2 separate regions of the Homo sapiens genome follow, and region 2 is linked to region 1. Evidence: promoter capture Hi-C in human tissues and cell types (Jung and others, 2019). All regions are on one chromosome and are shown on one strand. Each heading gives the region's core, a stretch centred on a gene start or on the middle of the fragment in contact. The rest is flanking DNA. Distances are from core to core; before and after follow the strand shown.

The links. The method cuts DNA at HindIII sites, captures the fragments that hold promoters and counts their contacts. A contact is called where the count stands out against the background at its distance.
Region 2: a fragment that was not itself captured here is called in contact with the fragment with the promoter of NUDT5 in region 1 in 1 of the 25 tissues and cell types used here (dorsolateral prefrontal cortex).

Annotation. Positions count from the first base shown.
Region 1 is chr10:12,192,711-12,200,290 of GRCh38, forward strand. It overlaps NUDT5 (nudix hydrolase 5), which reads right to left and starts at 3,181. Exons shown (of 10, transcript NM_014142.4): 1 at 3,060-3,181. It overlaps CDC123 (cell division cycle 123), which reads left to right and starts at 3,478. Exons shown (of 13, transcript NM_006023.3): 1 at 3,478-3,609; 2 at 5,995-6,066. The coding sequence starts at 3,536. RefSeq lists an enhancer at 3,225-3,494. The HindIII fragment of the contact is 7,930 bases long and covers 1-6,261 here.
Region 2 is chr10:13,082,302-13,089,881 of GRCh38, forward strand. It overlaps a transcript of CCDC3 not described here. Among named protein-coding and RNA genes, the nearest start is that of OPTN, 14 kb to the right of the region's middle. The HindIII fragment of the contact is 7,727 bases long and covers 1,085-7,580 here.

The DNA.
Region 1 (7,580 bases), core at 1,931-4,430:
TGAGGTGGCACACGCCAGTAGTCCCAGCTACTTGGGAGACTGAGGCACGAGAAAAGCCTGAACCTAGGAGGCAGCAGTTGCAGTGAGCCAAGATTGCACCACTGCATTCCAGCCTGGGCGACAGAGCGAGACTCTGTCTCAAAAGAAAAAAAAAGGATAATATTCTGATGTATCCTTCTTTTGTGCCATTTATGGTAAAAAATTTGGGTACCCACAATTGAATTCACTTATGGGTTTTTTTTTCATTCTCTTCAGGTGTGGCAGTTGGGTGGGCAGGGAGTAATTAACGTTTACTGAAATTATGCTACTTGGTGATCTCCAGGAATCATTTAGCAGGTGGTTTAAAATCCTCACATTTAATGCTGGTTGAGCAAGAGTGAACTGACTGTAATGACCCTTGGGAAGGTGAATTGGTTACAGACGTATAGTAACGACACTGTAAAGATAGTCCAGGCAGGAGATGACAGGTCTGGAGTAGAGTGGTAGCCGTGGCAAAGTGACATTTAATTTCCACGAAGACAGTTTTAAGGGAGACTGGGACATCGGAAGAAAAAAGGGGTGATGCAGAGCTCAAATCTGTACACGCTTGTTTGAGGTGATAGCAGACATCCAGATGAAGAAAACCAGCAGACAGGTGAAAATCTTAATCTAGGATGATTAGTCATGCTATGGATTCAGAGAAAGAAATGTGTTTTTTCATTACTTCATTAGGAATTGCACAATAAATCTCCTCCCCCATAATCACATGACTACTGACTTTTCAGCATGCAGGAGAAAAAGCAAATATTTCCACTGTTGAAAGGTTTTATTGGAGAAACTTGATGAATACAATGACTTCATGGCTTAGTGAAGACAACCACGGTGGTTAAAATACAGTGAACCCTCATTTAGCTGTATCCATTCAAAGTATTTGAGCATCTCCTATGTATAATGTCAATTTATTTGATGCTGGTTAAATGTGTAACAAGTTACTTAAAACCAACTGTAATACCAAAAAGTCATTGAACACACTTCTAAAGTATACTGCCTGAATAAAAGGTATCTATAAAAATTCCTTCCCTGTAGTATCTATATATTTAAGCTTACAAACTTAGCTGCTTTTCTACACACAACTGCAATTCTATATTAAAGCTTTGCAACTGCCTTAATCTCTACACTCTTTTTTTTTTTTTTCCCGAGACGGAAAAAAAAGAGTCTCGCTCTGTTGCCAGGCTGGAGTGCAGTGGCGCGATCTCGGCTCATCGCAACCTCCGCCTCCCGGATTCAAGCGATTCTCCTGCCTCAGCCTCCCGAGTAGCTGGGACTACAGGCATGCGCCAACACGCCCGGCTAATTTTTGATATTTTAGTAGGGACGGGGTTTCGCCATGTTGGACAGGCTGGTCAAACTCCTGACCTCAGGTGATGCGCCCGCCTCGGCCTCCCAGAGTGCTGGGATCACAGGCATGAGGCACCGCGCCCGGCCTATGCTCAAATGTTTCTTGGGCTGTTAAAGTACTGCTCCTCGCAGAAGGGCTATGTTCCCGGGATCTATTCTCTTCCGTACATTCATTCCTATCTTCATTAGAAAACATCTGACCTAAATAAATCCCCCATCGATGCTAACATCTCCTTCCGCGCAATTTTTTACTTTCTAAGTCAAATCAAAACAATTATTTGAGCGACTGCTCCTGTCTGCCATTAAGTCTTTCTGGCACCACCCTCCAGACATATATACAATATTGCTTCTTTCCCTCAAATCAGAAAGGACTGCATAGTTCCGGATCAAGGCATAAATGATGAATCATGACTGTCCATCCCCACCAACATACTCTGCAACATTATAATCTATTTACCTCTGCTTTGAAAATGTATTCTTTAAAGCACTGCTTCCAACTAGCCACTTAGCCAGTAACATTTTTGAGAAAAACAAAACACAACCCAAAACAATGTATATATTCCTGGGGGGAAGAGTTTCTAACTCAAAATACGCAGATAATTGTTTATTATTCTAAGGAACACCCTTCTGAAGAGGCCTGCAGTCGGTGGGGCTGTTTCTAATTTAAAACTACTTAGGTGAACCAGGAAGAATGTACATTTAAGGAGATACTTTTAGACGCAGATGCCTCGCGCAAGCCTAAAGCTCGTGTGGTAAGCGACACGACTAGGGGTTAAAAGCGGCTGGTTGGTAGGCCCGGGGCCGTGGCTCACGCCTTGTAAACCCAGCACTTTGGGAGGCTGAGGCGGGCAGATCACCTAAGGTTAGGAGTTCGAGACCAGCCTGGCAAATATGGTGAAACGCCGTCTCTACTAAAAACACAAAAATTAGCCGGCGTAGTGGCGCGCGCGCGCTCTCAGCTACTCGAGAAGCTAAGGCAGGAGAATCACTTAAACCCAGGAGGCGGAGGTTGCAGTGAGCCAAGATTGCGCCACTGCACTCCAATCTGGGCACAGAGTGAGACTCCGTCTCAAATAAATAAATAAAAGCAGCTAGTTACTTCTCATTCTTTTAACGAAACAAACAAAACTGAACTTTGCTGGGTGACAGGAGTGAAGCAAAGGAAAAAACGATAGTACAAGTTCGATTCGAATTCTTCCAGTCTTATGATTCGATCATCGCAGGAATACTGATAAAAATCTGCGTTTTTTCCAGGTTGACAACTTTTGCGAGGCCAGACTAAACGAATTCAGCGCTCCAAGGAGACTCCTCTTTCCTCTGCTTTCTCACATTTACCTCTCGCCTTTTACCTCCCAAAGTCGAACCCTCCAGGATCGTACAGGCGGTATTCCCTCTACCAAGCATTCTACTCCTCTGCAGATGCTGCAATCTTTACACTGGAACTAACACTTAGCTGTGGTGTTCCCCGCTTTCTTTACTCGGAGTAGCCCAGGCTCTTCCTCTCCAATCCACAATTTCCCTCCAATCCCCAGTTTCCCTCTTGGGCGCCTGGACGCGTGCCCAGCCGCAGCCTGGGAGACACCGCGCGGCTGCACGCACCATGCAGATGTGGTCCCTTTCCCCTTCTTCTTCTCCTCCCCAAAGAGGTTTTGTGCTGTGACTGGCTTGCCCCGGTTACTTACTCCAAGGTGTAGGGGTGAAGAACGGAAGAGGACGAAATAACTAGCTGGAGGCAGCAGTGTCAGCCGATGCCGGTGCCACGGCTCGAAACACCGGCGCCTCTCGCGGTGCTAAAAGGATGGGCGCGCACCCTCCTTCCGGCATCCGTAGAACCCCCGCCTTTGACCTAGCTTCAGGAGATTACTTTCCGGGTCAGCGTGCGTTTAGGGCGAAGACGGAGTTGTAAACTTCTTAAAATTCCTCTCTCGACACTTCGGTAATTCCTCTTTCGAGACTAAAGCTCTTTTTGTATGCGTGTGTGTCAAGCGTATGCCCCGGGATTCTCCTCCGCTTCCTTTTCTCGGTCTTCCTTCTTGCTTTAGGGACCGGAAGAGTCCTTGAACCAAAATAGCTCGGCGGGCACTTCCGGGGCCGGCGCCCAGAGTTCCGGGAGGGTGCAGGCAGGAGAGGGAAAGGCAGCAGCGGCGGCAGCTGGAGGATGAAGAAGGAGCATGTGCTTCACTGCCAGTTCTCCGCGTGGTACCCGTTCTTCCGAGGCGTTACCATCAAGAGGTGAGATGGGAGGGGGTTCGCCCGGTCGACCGGCAAAAGGGAACTGCGACTTCTGAGCGAATCTTACTGCTATCCAAAAAAATGCAGGCCTTCTAGCGACTGCATGGGAGGGAGTGTGTCGAGAGGGAAGTACATCAGCAATTGTCTGCGTCCTGTTGCGAGCCAGCGAGTGTGCTGGCTAGGAGGGTCAGTTGTGGTTTTCAGTGAGGGTCGGAGGCGGGAGGAATAGTGGATTAACCTAGTTTAGGCTTGGGAGTTCACCACCACTACTTTTAGAATGGCCCCAGGCGCAAGGTGATCACTGCCTAAGTGCACTCGGAGAATTAATTGCTTTTCGCCATCACCCCAGAGGATGGAGATTGGGAAGGTGAAAGGATACGTAATTACAGTTAGATACGAGAACAAGTTCACAGATATGTCGTACAGCATGGAGGCTATAGTTAATGACGATATACGTATTCTTGAAAAACGGAGAGTGGATGTTAGTGTTCTCACCACAAAAATAACTATGTTAGGCAATGCATTTGTTAGCTAAATTTATTCCACAGTGTATATATACTTAAAAACATCAGGTAGGCGGCAAGTATTAATATATACAATTTCATCTCTCAGTTTTTTTAAAGGCGTTGATAGAAAATCTGGGCTTTGCACTTAACTGATTTTCTGAGCCAACATTTCAGTAATTGCTGATTCATTATATGATGGTTTCATTCAATAAAGATCGGATATGTACTTGAAAATGTGTAACTGGCTTAGAATGGTTAAAATGTATAAGAAAAGTTTCAAGTTCTTAAATAGTATTGGAATGTGTGGTAGAACCTTAGATTCATTGTACTTAACAATTTCGCTTGTTAGCTTTGTAAGAGTAAAATACTTAGGAAGGCTTATTTGTAATCAGCAAATAGACATATTAAGAAAGAAAATTGAGTGGTTTATGAATAGAATTTAAAATTTTAAAGAGACTTTTAAGTTGCAAAGTTTCGCTTGAAATTGTTTAAAATTTAGTAGATTTTCAAACGTAATAAGATTTGTTAGAAGAAATTAAAAGCCTGAAGAACTAGATTTTTTTTTTTTGAGACAGAGTTTTGTTCTGTCGCCCAAGCTGGAGTGCAGTGGCAGCGATCTTGGCTCACTGCAAGCTTCCCTTCCCGAGTTCACGCCATTCTCCTGCCTCAGCTTCCTGAGTAGCTGGGACTACAGGCGCCCGCCACCACCCCCGGCTAATTTTTTGTATTTTTAGTAGAGGCGGGGTTTTCACCGTGTTAGCCAGGATGGTCTCGATTGCCTGACCTCGTGATCCGCCCGCCTCGGCCTCCCAAAGTGCTGGGATTACAGGTGTGAGCCACCGCGCCCGGCCAGAACTAGATTTTTGAATGTGAAATTGTACCTTTGATAAATCAAATATTTATTTTTAAAACCGAAGTTTTTGCTCTGTCGCCCAAGCTGGAGTGCAGTGGCAGTGATCTTTTATTTATTTAAAAATAAATAAAAATACTTATTTTTAAAACCGAAGTAGCCCATGAATACTCTTTTTTGTGCAAAAAAACCATTTGTAATGTGCCAAAAAAAACTTCTTCCATAAATAAATGAGACATGTTATAAGTCATTGATGTTCTGTTAACTTCGGGAAAGCAGGCTGTAATCTTTTCCACTTTTTGAAGATGTATATGCCTCAAAATCAAAATAATACCAGCACTCTTAGGGATCTGTGGTAGGGCTTTTTGATAATTTATTATTTCAAGGTAAAAAACAAATTATCCCATAAGTTTTTAAGAGACTTCAGGTATGGCTTTGCCATCCTTAATTATGATTACCTGAAACAAATTAAGCTAAAGCATGCCTAGTTTAAGCAGCTTTATATCTCTGGTGATCAGTTGAATAGAAAGCCAGCAAGACACATCCAAAAGTATCATGAATTCTTAGCGGTAGGTGCTCACTGCCAACCCAAGAATGGTTTCCAGATCTTGACTCTACTTCTGCCCTCTATCTTTAGAAGGTGACCAAATGCTAGTCATCTTCTAGTTGGGTTTGCTGCATTTCCTGTGTTGCAGCAAATATCTGCTGGTCTCTGATTTCTTAAAGACACATAAATGTTGTGCTCACTCAGAATCCTTTTGAGCTTGTTGCTTTCATACTGTGATTTCCATCTGGTGGTTTGGATTTGGCTGGTTTTTGTTTACTACAAAGACCATTGTGGCAATAAGATGAACCGCAGTAATCTTATTATTCTGATTTCTTGTCTACTGCTACCAAATGTACATCATTAACATTTTCTACTTTATATTAAAAGAAAGACAATTCCAAAATTAATCAAGTGTAGAGATTTTTCTCTCTGCTTATAGTTGGTCTTTTAAAATGATGCCTTTTTTGGTGTTTTTTTTTTAGTGTCATTCTTCCACTTCCTCAGAATGTGAAGGATTATTTACTCGATGATGGAACTCTGGTGGTTTCAGGAAGGTAAAGTATTTTAGAAAAAAATTTCTTAAACTTTATCATAAAGAAACACATAAAATGAATGAATTAGCTTAGGCACCATTCTTTCCCTTTAGCTCTTTTTCTCTCCTAGCCAAAATGATGTGCTGATCTTTGTCTCATATTCCTTCTCAATGTTCACTTAATATTTTCAACATTAAGTACTTTTCCCTCTAATAATTACAAGTTGTGAAATTGAGCAGTTCCTTTCATCTCTGTCTTTAGAAAACAGTTATGATGACAACTTTTCCTTCTGACGGTAGCAGGGTGGGGGAAGTACATATTAAAATTCTTTGAGATCCTTCAGTTTTGACGATTAAAAATTCACTGTTGCAAACAGGCTTTATCATCTAATTCCTCAACATTTTCTTCCCCACGATTGAACTACCGTGGCCCCCCCTCCACTTTCTAGAAGCTGTTCAGGTAGTTTCCCTATTTATAGAATAAAGGGAAGAAGTTACTGTGTTTCAGTCTTTTGGATGCAAACTTGAAAACGTTGAAGAATCATAGGATTTAGTGAAGTTCTCATTTTTTAATTCGAGTCTGCTCAGAAGTCACGTTATGAGTGTTCAGCCCTCACCAGCCTTTCTAAAATAGCCTGACAGTAACCCTATGCCCTGACCTCCCTTCATTTTTCTGCATAACACTTACTTCCACCTGACAATTGTTAATTGTTCCATTAGAATGCAGTTTCATGAAAACAGGGACTTGGCCCATTTGTTCACCCCAGCTCATGGAACAGTGCCTGATATAGCAGAAGTGCTTGATAAACATTTGTTGGATGAAGGAACTATAGAAATACAGTAAGAATTGTGTGTTTTCAGTACTACTAACTGGACCCCATATTTTTGCCTGTTGGGTTTTTAGTGTGGTTTTCTGGATTATATTTCTGTTTTTGGTATTCACAGAGCCTCAATAACCTGAAAATTATTAATGTAGCGCCTCATTAACTTTGAATAATTTGAGGCTGAGGAAACAGTAGGAAAGTCAGATAAGTCTCAACTTTAGGATATTTACAGATATAATTTTTTTTGTTTTGTTTTTCTTTTGAGACAGAGTCTCGCTCTGTCACCCAGGCTGGAGTGCAGTGGCGTGATCTCAGCTCACTTCAAGGTCTGCCTCCCGGGTTCACGCTATTCTCCTGCCTCAGCCTCCAAGTAGCTGGGACTACAGGCGCCCACCACCACGCCTGGCTAATTTTTTTTATTTTTAGTAGAGATGGGGTTTTACTGTCTTAGCCAGGATGGTCTTGATCTCCTGACCTCGTGATCTGGCTGCCTCGGCCTCCCAAAGTGCTGGGATTATAGGCCTGAGCCACCGCACTCGGCATTTTTTTTTTTTTTTTTTTTTTTAAAGATGGAGTCTTGCTCTGTCAGCCAGGCTGGAGTGCAGTGGCTCAATCTCAGCTCACTGCAATCTCTGCCTCCCAGGTTCAAGTGATTTTCTTGCTACAGCCTCCCAACTAGCTGGGACAACAGGTGTGCGCCACCACATCCAGC
Region 2 (7,580 bases), core at 3,698-6,197, 890 kb after region 1:
CTTCCCTGTTTGACAGCCAAGGCGGAGAGAGAGGACACAGCTTACGCCATTATTTCTGCATATCAGAGACTTTTAGTACTTTCACTAATTCTGCTACTGCTATCTAGAAGGCAGAGCCAGGTATACAGGGTGGAACATGAAAGTGGACCAGGAGCGTGACCGCTGAAGCACAGCATCACAGGGAGACGTTTAGGCCTCTGGATGGCTGCGGGCAGGCCTGTCTGATGTCAGGCCTTCCACAAGAGGTGGTGGAGCAGAGTCTTCTCTAACTCCCCTGGGGAAAGGGAGACTCCCTTTCCCGGTTTGCTAAGTAACGGGTGCCTTCCCTAGGCACTGACATTACTGCTAGACCAAGGTCAGCTAAGTAACGGTTGCCTTCCCAGGCACTGGTGTTACCGCTAGACCAAGGAGCCCTCTAGTGGCCCTATCCGGGCGTGACAGAGGGCTCACACTTGCCTTCTGGTCACTTCTCACTGTGCCCCTTCAGCTCCTATCTCTGTATGGCCTGGTTTTTCCTAGGTTATAATTGTAGAACAGAAATTATTATAACAGTGGAATAAAGAGTAATGCTACAAACTAATGATTAATAATATTCATATATAATCATATCTATATCCTATTTCTAGTACAACTATTCCTCTTCTATGTGTTTTCTTTATTATACTGGAACAGCTTGTGCCCTCGGTCTCTTGCCTCAGCACCTGGATGGCTTGCTGCCCACACAGCCTCCATCTTTCAAGACCAATTTTACCTCATTTCTCCAACGACAAGGGGAAAATTTGGCATTCCTTGGAGACTTAACAAGCAGTGAGTTCAGGCACTTCCAAGAGCTGACCCATCAGTCCACCATTATTCATCACCAAGCAGATGTATGGTAGTATTGTAGAGGACCTTTACTGGACATTCTGCCAAACAATTAGAGCAGTACTTGCACTCTAGTTCAATTGGCTATCCCTTTTACCCTGGCATTTCATCAACCAGAAAAGCTTTTTCTTTTAAAAACTCAAGCAAAATAGCTAGAACAAGACATGTTAAGAAAGTTTGCAGAGGAAAAAACTATGAAATCAAGAGGAGGGAACCGTAGAAAGTAAAAAGTTTCCTCTTCACAGTTTCCCTTTTTGTTAAAGAATAAATCATAAGTGTTAGAAATAATAGTTTCTTTTAAAGACTAACTTCCTTCAAGCTTCCTTGATTTGTGCTAATAACTCTTTGTTAAGCCCTATCCTATGTAGCTGTTAAATGTGCTCACAGGCACATAGTACATTCTATGTCCTTGTACTTTAACCAAGATATCTGTGCTGGAGGTGCTCACAGGCATGTCCCAGCTCACAGCCTATGCCCCTTCCTTATTTGGGAATGTTATTACTTTTCTAAGTCCTTTCGTAAGCAACTTCCTCTTTTCCTTTGTTCTCCATTGCTTTTACCTATTTAGAGAAGTTTTAAATTGTCAGCCAATTGGGTTCAGTTTAGATTGTGAGGTCTGGCTCCAGCCAATGGAGACAGGACAGAGTAGCAGGGACAAGCTGCGTAAGGGATAAAAATTGCTTCCCTCCTTTATTCAGGTGTGCTCTTGCCATTTTTCCATCTGCGAGGAGCACCCTTTCTGCAGAAAGTAAAATAACCTTGCTGAGAAAACTTTTTGTCTAAATGCTGATTTTTTTTTCCTTATGGTACCAAGGAACAAGCATTCTGTTTCTGAATAAACATTTTATATATAACATCCTGATATCCCAATATCTTGAGAACAGAAGCATTCCTAATTTTGCTTTAAAGATAGTAATATCGATTCTTGCAAGATATAGTCATTAAGAAAATTAATCCTTTATCACAAACCCTTGTAGCAGAGCACATCTCCCCATGATCTTCTTTATCCTACATAAATGAGTATTATACCTAGGGTGGACATGTTTCTTCTTCTGCCTTCGGGAACGCCCTACCCTGTCTATGGAGTAGCCATCTTTCACCACTCTACCTTCTTTTCTTTTCTTTTTTTTTTTTTTTGAGACAGCATTTCACTCTTGTTGCCCAGGCTGGAATGCAATGGCACAATCTCTGCTCACCACAACCTCCTCCACCTCTCGGGTTCAAGCGATTCTTGTGCCTCAGCCTCTCAAGTAGCTGAGATTACAGGGATGCACCACCACACCTGGCTAATTTTGTATTTTTAATAGAGACAGGGTTCTCCATGTTGGTCAGTCTGGTCTCGAACTCCTGACCTTAGGTGATCCACTCGCCTCGGCCTCCCAAAGTGCTGGGATTACAGGCATGAGCCACCGCGCCCGGCCCCACTTTACTTTCTCAATAAACTTGCTTTTGCTTTGCACTGTGGACTCACCCTGAATTCTTTCTTGCACGAGATCCAATAACCCTCTCTTGGGGTCTAGATCGGGACTCCTTTCCAGTAACATTGTGAGATCCTGATTTTGAGATGCCCAGAAAGTTGCCAGCAATCAGTGGATTACAGAGGTCTGAAGATGTGGGGAGGAGGTGAGCAAAGCCATGAGAAGGAGTGAGATTGTCTAGGGAGAGGAAGGAGAGCACAGTATGGGTGCAGGGGCCAGGCTTGTGTGGACACATCTGGAAAATGCTAGAGCACCCCATTAGCAGGTGACGTTCCCCAACAGAAAATCACGCCCTCCAACCAAGCCTTTGTCAGTCACATACAAAAAAGTTTTAAATCTCTCATCTGCCTTTCTCTGGTTTCACACTTGTTCAGAACCCAGGCAGGGAAGAAGAGAACTATTTTCTGAGGCCCCCTGAAGATCCTGACAACAAAGAGAATAGTTGAAGTGTCAATATCCTTCCTTCCAGAAAGTGTTCTGGCTTCCAGGCAAACTGCCACCACCACCCCAGCAACCTGAGATCAAGGCACTGGAGTCTGCCTAGCAAGCCTGGGTCCCAGCCCCAGCCAAGGGAATATTGAGTGAGCGTGCTGTTGTGTGCGCACCCCAGAAACTTTACGGCTCTGTCACTAAAGGGAGCCACTCCAGTGGTTCTTCCCAAAGAAGTCAGCTTCAAGATGACTCAGTGTCCCCATGCCAGAAATAGAAATGGCTGGCAACTTTCACATGTCAGTTTCTTCTGCTAACAACAATTCCACACCCTGTTACATGCCCATTGAATTTAACAACGGGAGGTCCTTAGCGATTTTGGACACAGCAGATGGATTTTCAGTCCAAAGCATTCAGGAAGCACTGAAATCCGTGACCCCATCCCCACCTCCGTTGTGGGGCTTTGTAATGCATATCAGCATATTGAAGACCGTGGAAAGCAGTCTCCAACATTTTGTTTAATTCAAACTTTTTGATCCATAATCCTCCCTCCTTTCCAGGCAGAAAACTTTCAAATATTCCATAAAACATCAGAAATTCAAGGGACCATGAGGCCAGGTGCAGTGGCTCATGCCTATAATCCCAGCACTTTGGGAGGCCAAGGTGGGCAGATCACCTGAGGTCAGGAGTTTGAGACAAGCCTGGCCAACATGGCGAAACCCCATCTCTATTAAAAACATAAAAATTAGCTAGGTGTGGTGGTAGATGCCTGTAATCCCAGCTACTCAGGAGGTTGAGGCAGGAGAATCACTTGAATCCGGGAGCTGGGGGTTGCAGTGAGCCAAAATTGTGCAACTGCACTCCAGCCTGGGTGACAGAGAGAGACTCCCTCTTAAAAAAAAAAAAAAGAAAGAAAGAAATTCAAGAGACCAAGTATATATTGAAGAAGTTTGGATGAAAAGATAATTAATTAGAAAAAGTGGTCATAAAGGGAAAATATGAACCAAGAGAGGCCTTGTTATTTAGTGATTATTTTTAGATTGGTATAAACTTCCATATGTTCTTAGGCCAAGGGAAGCAGGAAAGATGGCGCATATGAGAAACAGAATAATTCATGGAGCCAGGCCCTTTGGGGATTTATAATCAAGTAGCTTTTACTTGGTAAATACTTCTTATATGAATAACAAATGAAAGGAAGTGAAACCCAAAATTTGTAAGTTTCAAATGCAAAGTAGATGAATAATCATTCTTTTGAGATATTTCCAAAGTTAGCATAACAATTCCAAGTCATTGAGTAAATATTCACATCAATATTTAAGATTTAAGGCAATTGTTTGGAATATTTTGGGAGTTATGAATAAAACTCTGAATCCTCTCTGCAAAAGGTTTCTTTCTTTTTTTTGAGATGGAGTCTTGCTCTGTCACCCAGGCTGAAGTGCAGTGGCACAATCTCAGCTCACCGCAACCTCCGCCTCCCGGTTCTCCTGCCTCAGCCTCCCCAGCAGCTGGGATTACAGGCACATGCCACCACGCCCCACTAATTTTTTGTATTTTTAGTAGAGACGGGGTTTCACCGTGTTAGCCAGGATGGTCTCGATCTCCTGACCTCGTGACCCGCCTGCCTCAGCCTCCCAAAGTGCTAGGATTACAGGCATGAGCCCCCGCGCCCGGCCTCTGTAAAAGGTTTCTACGATGAGTTTCAGGGAATTCAATCCTAGTTTTCAAATTTGTCACCAAAGCTGTGGTTGGTCCAGGGGGTCAGGAAGCGGCACCTGCCACCCAGAGGTGAGTAAAATGCAGAAAACCACTGCCAGTAGTCCCAGATGCCTACAAGCCCTGGGCTAATAACAGTTAAGGAAACATGAAAGGGGCTGCAGATTCATCTGTTGGAAGCCCACACACCTGTTGCAGCCTCAGCTTTTCAAACCTGGCACAGACACATCTTCTCAGCTGTATCCTAAAGCCTGTTGGCAAAGGCATTTCAGAAATATAGTCCCTAGGCTTCTAAGGCCTAAGATACAGAGAAGAGCATAAAAGGTGCTAGGAACAAGGCCGGGCATGGTGGCTCACGCCTGTAATCCCAGCACTTTGGAAGGCCAAGGCGGGTGGATCACCTGAGGTCGGGAATTCGAGACCAGCCTGACCAACATGGAGAAACCCAGTCTCTACTAAAAATACAAAATTAGCCAGGCATGGTGGTGCATGCCTGTAATCCCAGCTACTCAGGAGGCTGAGGCAGGAGAATTGCTTGAACCCAGGAGGTAGAGGTTGCGGTGAGCTGAGATTGCGCCATTGCACTCCAGCCTGGGCAACAAGAGTGAAACTCCATCTCAAAAAAAAAAAAAAAATGGTGCTAGGAACAGTGCTGACGATATCTGGCCCACCCTCTTTGCCCCTCTCCCTTCTCCATGTCCACTCCTCTTAGCAGTGCACCTTATAACAGAAGACCAGATAGAAGGCTAAAAACCAGCACAAGAGAAGTCTGGACCCTGGAAATGGGCGGGTGAGATCGAAGCACAGAAGGGCTATGGAAGTCTGGGGAAAAACAGGAGGTCCTAAGGGGTAGAAGTTTTCCTCCCTACTATAAAAGGATAAGCTATGTTGGGGCTTATCCTTAGATACTTAGAAGATGATACTTAGAAGTATCATCTAAGGTCAGTGGAGAAACTGGCGCAGAGAGCTAGGAGCATAGAGAAGCCATAGCCGCCGCTTTCCTATGTACTCTGCAATGGGCTGGAATGCTTTTCTACAGCCTGAAGGTAAGAGATCTACAAGGTTGGTGCACTAGCAATTGTGGTCCTCCAGACTTTGGATGTGCTCACATTAGGAAGCTTTTGGCAAGGACTTCACGGATAGCATTGCAAGCTGAGGATCTGTATAAAATGATCAGATCCAGGATTCCACTAGTTGGTAAAAAGTCTTTGTGTGCGTTTGAGAAAGGAGTTACTTCCTTGGGAAGACGCAGCTTCACACCAAAGTGCATGACTTGGCATGCTTCAGCCTGCATTCATCCCCTTGGGGATGCAGTGAACAGCCTGCACAACTGTACACAGCCGCCCCAGTCAAATCCTAGCAAAAGACTAATCTACAGTAAATTTATGTTAGCAAACTTAGATACAAGAATTTTGACTCACCATTGAGTCATTGTAAAAGTAGTGTTGGTTTTAGTTATCATTAAAAAGACTCAACAATTTAGAAATAATGTTGAGAAGGATAAAAAAAAATTAACATGCTGCTCTAAAGATAGAAAGAATCTAATTCTATTGGAGAGCTGTAACTCTTAGAATAAATGAAAAGGAAACGTGAATTGAGCAAACCAGTGTTGATAAACACAAGAAAGGGACGTCATAAAATGACATCGCCCCAAATCCAGCAGAGTCAATATCATCAAACTATAATTAGCACAAGTCTCCAAGGAGCATGAATCATATTGAGAAATAGGTTTTTGATCTTGAAAAGTAATATGAGAACTAGAGATGAAAACTAAGCTGTAGATGGCACACTGCAAAAAATTGAGGCTACCGAGGGAATGGAATGAGACAGGCTGCCGCTCACCTGCCTGCCCTGTCTCCAAAAGCACAGGCAAAAGAAGCAAATGAGGCGTTAAGCAGCATTAAGGAGACAAGACGGAAAGGAGGAAAGCATTTTTAAAAAATTAACTGAATATTAGCTGGGCGCAGTGGCTCACGCCTGTAATCCCAGCACTTCGGGAGGCCAAGGCAGGAGGATCACCTGAGGTCAGGAGTTCGAGACCAGCCTGGCCAATATAGTGAAACCTACTAAAAATACCAAAATTAGTCAGGTATGGTGGCGGGCACCTGTAGCTACTCAGGAGGGTGAGGCAGGAGAATCATTTGAACCCTAGAGGCAAAGGTTGTAGTGAGCTAAGATCGTGCCACTGCACTCCAGCCTGGGTGACAGAGTGAGACTGTCTCAAAAAAAAAAAAAAATAAAAGAAGAAAGAAATATTAACTGGATATTGAGATATATGTAGAACAGGTCTACGACAAATTCCCTCCTCAAATTCTCCAGGTTCTGATTCAGATCCAAAAACTACACAGCGGACCATATAAAATACATCTTAGAGCTTACAGATAGTGGCTAACTCTTTAGAAAGAGTCGTCTTAAAGTAGTAACTTTATTTGTTTAACACTTATTTATGAATATTTATAAATGAACACTTATGAATATTTGTAAGTGAACACTTATTTATGAATATTTGTAAGTGAACATTTCTTTATGTTTAACACTTATTATGAATTCTTTATATGAATCATATAAAGAATGCAAGTAAACAACTTAGTACTATTGTTATATTCTTTGAAGTTGCTGGGACTATTGTCCCATCACTTGATTAGAGTCTTCAATTCTCAAACTTGCTTTTCTGTCCCCATTCCTCGGGGTACTCTGGCCCCGGACACCTTCAATGCCCTCTCCTTCCTGATACTTTTCCTCACTTGACTTCGGGGACATTGCTCTCTCCTAGTTTCGCTTTCTCTTATCTGGATGCTCCCTCTTCTCTCCTCTCCAACTTTTTATTTTCTTTCAGCACCCCCCCTTAAATTGGAGGAATTCTCTAGAATTCAGCCATTTTTTTAAATTTAAATTTTAATTTTTTTATTTCCAAAGGTTATTGGGGAGCAGGTGGTGTTTGGTTACAGGGATAAGTTTTTTACTGGTGGTTTGTGAGATTTTGGTGCTCCCATCACCCGAGCAGTGGACACTGCACCCAATTTGTAGCCTTTTATCCCCCACCCCCCTCCCACCCTTTCTCCGTGAGTTCCCAAAGTCCATTGTGTCATTCTTACG